Linked DNA regions of Homo sapiens: region 1 is linked to region 2. The links are contacts of gene promoters, found by promoter capture Hi-C in human tissues and cell types (Jung and others, 2019). All regions are on one chromosome and are shown on one strand. The core of a region is centred on a gene start or on the middle of the fragment in contact, and the rest is flanking DNA. Distances in the headings are between cores, read along the strand shown. Region 1 overlaps NCOR2 (nuclear receptor corepressor 2). Region 2 holds the start of NCOR2 (nuclear receptor corepressor 2).

What was found. The method cuts DNA at HindIII sites, captures the fragments that hold promoters and counts their contacts. A contact is called where the count stands out against the background at its distance.
Region 1: a fragment that was not itself captured here is called in contact with the fragment with the promoter of NCOR2 in region 2 in 3 of the 25 tissues and cell types used here (IMR-90 fibroblasts, aorta and dorsolateral prefrontal cortex).

The regions. Positions count from the first base shown.
Region 1 is chr12:124,500,059-124,504,434 of GRCh38, reverse strand. The region is part of intron 2 of NCOR2 (nuclear receptor corepressor 2); the gene reads left to right. Among named protein-coding and RNA genes, the nearest start is that of NCOR2, 65 kb to the left of the region's middle. The HindIII fragment of the contact is 6,725 bases long and covers 1-4,376 here.
Region 2 is chr12:124,565,106-124,569,685 of GRCh38, reverse strand. NCOR2 (nuclear receptor corepressor 2) reads left to right here and starts at 2,074. Exons shown (of 49, transcript NM_006312.6): 1 at 2,074-2,378. RefSeq lists enhancers at 1-621, 622-1,482, 1,649-1,698 and silencers at 1,819-2,068, 2,179-2,538, 2,559-2,668, 2,809-3,028, 3,229-3,328. The HindIII fragment of the contact is 12,918 bases long and covers 1-4,580 here.

The DNA.
Region 1 (4,376 bases), core at 1,497-3,996, 66 kb after region 2:
CAATGTGTGAGCAGCCCTCATTAGGAGAAGCCAGACATTCCAAATTTCCTGTGAAATCCCTCTTTATAAGAGCTGGTCTCTGGGGCTTAGCTGAGCTGACCCTGGGGTGAGGAAGCAAGTCCCAGGAAACTGCCCAGAGGGAGCAAGTCTGGGACCTGACGAGACGCTCCGGGCACCCCAGCTTTCTGGCTTTAACCTGGCCCACGTATCTCTACCCTGTACATCTACCCGGGGTCAAGGAGGAGGATTCCCAGGCTGGAGTCCTCTCGGCCTTTCTCCTCGAACCCAGCTCAAGGGGAAGATGTGCTGGTTTATGCTGAAAAGGGAGAAGTGGTGCCAGGTGGGGGACTCGGGAGAGTTGAGACCCTCCCACGCTGAGTCTGGGTTTGGGACTGGAGGCAGTTTTCCCTAGGGTCCTTCTTACTCAGCAGGCTGGGACTTGGGGAGCAGTTATATGGGTTTGGGGGTTCCTGAAGGCGACAGTGCCTTTCTGTGTCCCTCATGGAGCTGGGCATGTGGGAGGGCCTGGGAATATTAGCAGGATGAAGACATGCTTGGCCCTGGGGATTGGTTAGAAATGTAAGACCAGAAAAACCCGGAAAATGAAGCAGCTAAGTTGATACCCATCTGGTGATGAGTGTGTGCATCCATCCGCCCATCCATCCATCCATCCATCCATGCATCCATGCATCCATCCGTCCATCCATCCATCCATTCGTCTGTCCATCCATCCATCCATCCATCCATCCATCCATCCATCCATTCACCCGTCCATCCATCCATCCATCCATCCATTCGCCCATCCATCCATCCATCCATCCGTCCGTCCGTCCATCCATCCATCCGTCCATCCGTCCGTCTTCCATCTATCCATCCATCCATTCGTCCATCCATCCATCCATTCATCTGTCCATCCTCTGTCCATCCATCCATCCATCCATCAATCCATCATCCATCCATCCATCCATCAGTCCATGCATCCTTCCTCCTTTCTCTATCCATGCATGCATTCATCCATCCATCCTCCTTTCCTCCCTCCCTTCCTCCTTTCTCCTCCATCCTCCCATCTCTATCCCTCTTCCATCTTCTCCCTCCATCCAGCCACCCCCTGCTGAGCACCTGGGTGGGGAGTCTGCCAGTTGGGCCAGACCTGTCACTGGGTGTGGGCCGTGGTCAGCAGGGCCTTTTGCCTTTTGTCTGACTTGGTCACTGCTGTAGCTGTGCTTGTACAGTGTTTGCACATAACAGATGCTGAAATAATTCTCTAATTGATGAGAATGGGTCAGCAACCGGAGTTTGGGATGGGTTTGGCTTGCCTGGTCTCAGCTGGAGGGCAGACCGCACCCTTGTGGGTGGCACCCGGGATTGAGCTCTTAGTATTTGACCCTCAGCCCCTCCGGCAGAGCCAACGACAGGCTGGGGTTGGGTACCTGGCTCTTCCTTAGGGAGTGGAATGACCTTTCTGCCAAGTGAGGGCCAAGGAGTCTGGCCTCATTCCTGCAGGCCTGCCGCTGTGCATGGGTGGAGGCCCGTTTCTCTAGGGCCCTGACAATCGTGGCTGTCATCATTCAGGGTTACAGGGGCCCTTTTACCTGTGCCCCACACTCAGACACCTGTGCCCAGTGCTCCTCGACACAGGGGCAGCTACAGTGTCCTTTGAACACAGAGACGCCAGAGGCAGACTTGCCACAGGAGACCGCACGTCAGCCTTGTTTAAAGTGCACCAGCTGTGTCCTTCCTAGCTCCCTTGCAGTGAACACCCCAGCTTTCTGGCTATAGCCAGAAAGAGTGACCTCACATGCCTTCGCTCACCCCACTCTCCCCATCCAGGCCTCCCTGCTGTCCTCACACACCAGGCTCGGTCCTGCCTCTGGGCCTTTGCACCTGCTGTGCCTGCTGTGTAGACTCCCTCCTCTCCCCGGCGCCTTTGCATAAAAGGCACCTCTGGTGACGCACCCCTGACTGCCCACTTTCAAAATGTACCCCCATTCCCTGCCTGCCGCCTCCTGGTTCTGTTTTTCTCCATCGTGCTAACACCTTCTGCCATCCTCTTACTCCCGTCTCACCTGCTGGAATGGCAGCTTCACGAGGTGGGGGATTTGGGATCAGTAATTCACTGCTGTATCCCCAGCACCTTTCACACAGTAGGTGCTTAACAAATCGTGGTAGACAGAGTGAGCCACCAGGCCGGGCAGCAGGAGCTCTCTCTTCACCCCCTTCCTCATTGGCTGTGGGGGCCCCTCTGGACTGGGCTGGGCGAGGTGCACCCTTGCCACGTCCCACCGGCTTTCCGCATCTCAGGACTCACTCCAGAGCTGGATTCCTGAGCATCCGTTCTGCGCCAGGAGTCCTGCTGAAGGTGGCCATCAGATACTTGGCCAGTTCCCCAGTTTTTACTGCACGCCAGAAAGTAAACACCCAAGGTGTCAACAGCTCGACCCGTGGAGCTGGCGCTCCGCAGCGTCTTGTGCGCACATCCCAGAACTGCTGTCCCAGAGTTCCCCCCGGGCCGGCTTCTCCTCGGGCCAGACTGGCTGCAGTGGTTTTGTTTAGTAAATATTTATTAGATGCCTACTGTGTGCTGGGCTCTGGGGATACAGCAGTGAACAAAACAAGTATTTCTGGAGCACCTCCTGAAGTAGGTAGTGTTCTCCCTTAAGGTACGTCTGCGTGGAACCTGGGAGTGCGGCCTTGTTTGGAAAGGGTTTTTGCAGATCACATTAGTTAAGATGAGGTCACAACCGGATAGGGGAGGGCCCCAAATCCAATATGACGGGTGCCCTTAGAAGAAGGGGAGACACAGAGACAGGAGATGCAGTGGAAAGGCTGCGTGGAGATAGAGGCAGAGGATGGCACGATGCATCTACAAGCCAGGGAACACCGGGGGTTGCCGGGGCCACCAGAGCTGGAGGAGTGAGGAAGTAGGAAGGGCCTCCCCCAGAGCCCCCAGAGGCCGTGGGGCCCTGATGACAGCTGGATATGGACTCGAGGCCTCCAGAACAGTGAGACAATCCATTTCTGTTGCTTGAAGCCATGCAGTCTGTGGTGGGGCAGCCGAGGGCGCTAATACGCCTCGTGTGTGCCAGGTGCCGTGCCTCTCGGTGGCTGTCACACAATAGGTGCTTATTCCACAGTGAGTGGAACAAATACCTACTGAGCGGTGAGGGAGGCCGTATGTGGCTGAGCTGCAGGGCTCCTGGGGCCTGCCTGTCTTCGCAGGGCCAGGCTGGGACAGTGGAGGCACGGCCTGTGTTCCCGCCGTGGTTCCGCCCACCCCAGGGGGGCTTTGTGCCTTGGGCTTCTCAGAGTATCAGAGGGTTCTGTCGAGTGTGTGTGTGTGTGTGTGTGTGTGTGTGTGTGTGTGTGTGTGTGCGCGCGTGCGCGCGCGCTCGTGCCGTGGGCGCTCTCTGCCTGGCAGGTTGGTTTTTAATCCCGAGGCTCCCCCACCTGCCACAGGTTCTTCCAATGTCAGCACCCATTAGTTCCCAGAACATTTCAGGCACGTGCGGCGCAGAGCCCCGCGTGCCTTTCATCCTCCCCACAGCCCGCGGCTGAGCGCTCCGGGCACATCCTGTAGCTCCCACACCTCCACCAGCCCCCGCCTGCCCCTCACCCTGAGGCTGTAATTCCACCCTCCCCAGGTCTGAACCAGGCCGCTCAAGACACAGAAAATCTATGGAATGTGTCTCGGTGTGGCCTCATCCTGCCGGAGCTGGAGAGGAATGCAGGGGTGGGAGGCCCCATGGAAGCTTCCAGGGCCTCCCGGAAAGGCGCCTCTGCCCGGCCAGGTGGGAAGAGGACACAGGTGTGGTGGTTTCTGGCATCACTGCGTTGCTGGCATGCACCTCCGCTGGGCAGAGTCATTCAGTGTGCACCTACTGTGTGCCAGGCACCAGAAGGGGCTCTGGGTCCAGCAGGAGGCAAGGCGGACAGCCAGTCAGAGCTCACGGCCTGAGCTTTCCGCTGTGGATTTGGAAACCTTACCAAAGCCCGCAGTGGCCGGGAACAGGGAATGTGGCCCACTTGGCTTCTGCTGCTGCCTGGCAGAGTGCAGTGGGGGCGGGGGGCACTTGTGTGTTTGCTACCTCCTGGCAGGCATGGCCCAGGGACAGACCCCTGCAGCCGTGCATGGGGAGCCCCTCCACCTGCCTGCGTGGGATCTGCAGCCCTCCTCCAGCTGGTTCAGGGGCCAGCAGGGGCCCTGGGGCTGTGGTTGGTGGCTTGGATGTGCAGAGGCCTGCTTGGGCCCTTGGTGTCCCCGTTGGGTATCCCGGCCACCTGAGATCTACAAGTCCCTTGACCTCACCCAGGCACCGTCTTGTTCTCCTCGGAGGCCTGACCCTCCTGACTCTGCATGGCTGAGCACCTGCTGTTCC
Region 2 (4,580 bases), core at 825-3,324:
AGTGCTGGTGTTACTCCCCGCCGTCTGTGAGGGTGAGATTAATAACCCAATTCAGCCAGGAAACAGGAGCAGACGGGAAAGGGCCAATCCCTTTCGGGATAAACGCTGCCCTTCTCCTGGCCTCAGTCTTGCCATCTGTGACATGGTCGGGCCAGAGGCCATTGGCGCTTGAGTTGATAAGGCTTCCAGTGAGGGATTTCTAGGTGACGCTTGGGACATTACAAAGCTGACAGACCCCCTGCTTTCCCCGCTCCTAAGCCTGCAGGGAGCCCTCGAGGGCAGAAGCTGGGAGACCCCTGAAGACACCCCAAATGTCCCTCCTCCAGCTTCAAATAGAGCTGAATCTCATGGAAATGCAAATTCCCAGAGGGTTTTCAGGTGACAGAGGAGGGCTGCCAGGCGGCCTGGGGCTGGCAGAGGAGCTCCCCCGCCCCCGCTTCCCTCTCCAAGACCCTTGGTGGGGGAGGTGGGGGATCAGGCCTTCCTTCTGCGGCTCCAGCTTTTTGCCTGTGGATTCGGACCGACTGGCTGGGCAGAACTGGAGCTGGTCGGGCCAAAACAAGGAGGTGGGGGGGGGGCACTGACCTATGACCCCTCCTGTTTCAGTCTGCAAACTGCTCCCCTCCACACCCACTTCCCTTTTGCCAGACATTGTCAGCCCCAGAGGCTCCCGCCAGCCCCCCAAAAGCTCATAATTAAAAGCCCGAGGGGGCAGAGAAGGACCTGGCTGCAGGGGAGCCCGGCAAACCCAGCATCCTGGCGGAGGCGGGAGGCCCGCCGGCCTCTGGAAACCACGCGGCTGCCTCCCCACCGCAGCCATTCCCCGCTCTCCCTGGGGGTTCTCAGATGTTGCCAGATGGCAGAACTGAATCTGCTGAGACGTCACTCCAAAAAAGGAAAGTTGAACTGAAAAAAAAAAAAAAAATTCAAACTCTCCAACATCTTAGGAGAAAGCAGAAGAGGAGGGAGGGAGGGAGGCTCCAGGCCCAGGGCTCCCAGTGCCCTCTGCTGTTCAAAGAGATCTGCCCTGGTTGGAGAGGGCAAACCTGGAGGGGGTGGGAGGAGGGGGTAAATGAGGACACTGGGTTGTCAGGGCGGCCAGGGGGGCCAGGTTCCTGCTGGAGCGGAGAGTGTCTGCCTGTGCGTGGGGGAGCGAGCACATGTGTGCCGTCTGTGACTGCGTGCTTGTGCAGGCCGGGCGTGTGTGGCTCCCAGGGTCACGCTTTGGGATGTGTGTGTCTGTGTGTGTGTGTGGGGGGGGCGGGGGGGACACAGGCTCGTTGCATTGTCTCCGCATTTGTGTCCCTGAATGTCCCCAAGTGGGACTTCACTCAACACATTCGTGAGTCCCTACTGCGATAGGGCAGTGAACAAAATAGAAATCTCTGCCCTCAGGAAACTGGCATTCTAGCGTCTGTGTCCTCCGGGGTGCTGTGAACTCGCGTGGGTGTCCCAGTATTTGTCTGTGTGAGATCTGACATCTCCGGTCCGTGGTGGGTGGTGAGTCTGCAGTGTGTTCGCCCGGGCTGGGTCTCGGGTCTGGGGAGGCCCAGCGTGTTCCTGCCTGGAGAGGGCTCTGCGCTACTGTCTGCTCCCGTCCCCAAGTGCCCCACTGGGCGTGCTCCTAAAAGGCCCTGTGTAGGGCCCTCCCTGCGCGCCCCCTCCCCATCCAGCGGCCACTCCAGAGTTATAATTTAATAGCTGAAACGCGATTCCAGTGAGGTACTGGGGCTGGAGAGGAGGAGGAGGGCCCCCGGGCCCGCAGGAGAAGAGGGAGGGGAAGGCTGGGAGGCGCTTCCCCCCTCCTTCCTCCTCGGGGAGCTGCCAAAAAGAAACTCGGCGTCGCGCCCAAGTGTGTGCGTGCGTGTCTGTGTGTGTGGCGGCGTGCGCGCGCGAGTGGGGACGCGCAGGGCCTGGAGAGAAGGCGCGGGCCCTTTAAGGAGCCAGAGGGGGCCGGGCCGGGGCGCGTCGCTGCGGGCGGGGAGCCGGGAGCAGGGAGGCCGAGCCACCGCCTCCCGGGCTCGCGCCCCGCCCCCTCCTCCCCCTCCCGCCGCCGCCGCCGCCGCCGCCGCCGCCACCGCCGCCGCGGCCGCCGGGGAGCGCGGAGCCGCGGGCAGGCCGGGCCGCACCGGAGCCCCGCGTCCGCCGGCGCCCCGCCCGAGCCCTGCGCCCGCGCCCTGCGCTCCGCGATGCGCGCCAACTTGCGGGCCGGGGACCCAGGGCCGGCGCCCTAGGAGGCGGCGGCGGGAGGATCGCGTCCCGACCCGAGGCCGGGCCTGCTGCGCGCCCCCAGCCCGATCGGCACCGCCACTTGCCTGAGCGCCCCGGCGGCCCGAGCGCGCCCCAAGCCCGGGCGCCACCGCTGCCACCTCCGCGAGGTGAGTTGGGGCCGAGGGTCCCCGCGAAGGGCGGGGGGAGGCGCGGAGCGCGCTTCCGGGGGATCCGGGGAGGATCGGGCGGCGCACGCGGCGGAGTTGGCGGGGCCCCTGCACTCCCGAGTTGGCGCTCTCGGGGGGTGGCCTGCTGGGGAGCAAGGCGCCCCGCCGACACTGCGGCCCGCGTGCTCGGGGGCGCCGGGGAACTTAGGGGAACTCCAGCTCCCTAGCGAGGGGGCGGGAAGGAGGGAAGTGGCGTTGGGGTGGGCGGGGGGCGCGCTGGAAATGCACAGAGCGGCCCCCCACAGTGTGCGCCGGCTCTGGGGACTTGGCCGCCAGGCGTCCCTTGTACCCGGTGTAGCCCCGGACCTGGCGGGGCGACACTGCGCCTTATTTTCCATCGGGCAGCGCGGGTTTGAAAGCCCTTGGAGATGGTACCCCTAGCTCCCTGGCCTGGCTGTTGTGGAGGGGCGCATGAGGGTCTCTCACCAGCCGAGGGGGAGAGCCAGCCTTGTCCCTCCTAGGCGTGGGGCCACGGGGCGCTGGGCGGGGTCCCTCGGGAGAGTCGCCCCTGGTCCCCCTCCCCCGCGGGCCGGTGTTCCTGGTGTCTGGGCCTGCCTCCCGTGGCTGGTGACGCCTCATTGGGCCGCCTCCTAGTCCCTCCCCCGGGCTGTGCGGATACTTGGGATGCCACTACTTTGCGAAGTTGGAATTCAGAGCTGATCCCACTTGGGCACGACTGGGAAGACCCAGACCCTTGTCTAGAGGGCAGCTTCCTCAGAGGCCTGCGGGGAGTGAGGGCACCCGTGGGGTACGCCCTCCCCGCCCCAGACACTTGCAGGAGGAGCAAGCCGAGGGCGGGAGGGCACGGCGGGCGGGAGGGAGAGACAGGCTGTACCTGGGAGCTGCTGTCGCCCGGGCCCAATTAGCGTGGGGCGCCCGGCGTTATTTTTACATTGTAGGTTTATTTTTTTGGAAGCGAGTGTCCTCCCGCCGCCTGTCGCGCGCTCCGGCTCTCCGAGGGTCTGGTGCAGGCAGCGGGGGCGGATCTGTTCTGTCGGCTCAGCCTCCTCCCTTCCTCCCCCTCCTCCTCTCCCCCGTTGGTGAGAACTGGTTTTATTGTGATTATTATTATTTTTCCCTTTTTGCAGATTTGGAGGAAGGATGTGTGAGGGAGGGAAGAGGGGAGGAGGGGATAAGGGGAGGACCCTGTGGGCGGGGTGGGGGAGTTCTGGGCGCGTTGGGATGTGTTACCGGTGGCCTTGACTTTGCCCCTTTTCAGCCAGATCTGGGTCCTTGCGGCAGCTTTGATATAAGGGGCTCTCCGGGCCAGACTGCGCCGGGAGGGCGACCCGGGGCAGGCTGTGTACCTCGTGGGTGGCCTCTTTGGGGGTGCTGAGGAGGGGCCGAGAAATGGCAAGCAGCAGTGAGGTGGGATGGCCCACTCTGCACCTCAGCTCCTGGGGTTTGACTCTGACCTTTGCCACTTTCCTGGCAGTGTGACCCTGGACAGATGCTTAACTTCTCTGTGCCTGTCAGGTTTCCCATCTGCAAAATGAGGGTCAAAATGGTACTGAGTTCACAGAGTGGTTGTGAGAGCTGACCGTCCGGCCATAAGAATCCCTTGGTACTTGTATGTGTTACTATGACTACTGTGTCGGTATTATTATTCCTGGGTTCTAAGATTGGGCCTTTAATCCAACGTGGTCTGGAAGCCCTGTGAAAAGGGGCCACCTTACCTTTGGCTGGGGGTGGACAGTGGGGGGATCTGGGGGAGGGAGGGGGCCTTTTCCCACTCCCCTCTGCTTGTCCGGAGAGGATGGAGAAGGGCAGGTGCCCCCGCCCATTGAACAGATGCAAAGACTGAGTCAGGCCCAGCAGAGCAATGAAGGGGGGGTGGAGCCAGCGGTGACTGGCGAGTCGGCAGCGCGGCTGCCAGGGCATCCCGGGCTCTGTCTGGCTTCCCTGAGCCGCCTGCCGTGTCCCTGCTTGGAAATTCACTGCTGCCACCGCCAGCGGGTGCCGGGGGAGTCTGTGGTGCCGGTGCCCAGACATGGGGGCGGGAGCGCAGCAGGCCCCAGCCCTGGCCTCTTCCCACTGAGCTATTTACGCTGCTGGGGATCAATACTATTGATAAATCCATGTAAATGGTAATGTGGCTGTCAGGCCCTGGTGAGGGATGGAGACCCCTCCTGGGGCTGCGCT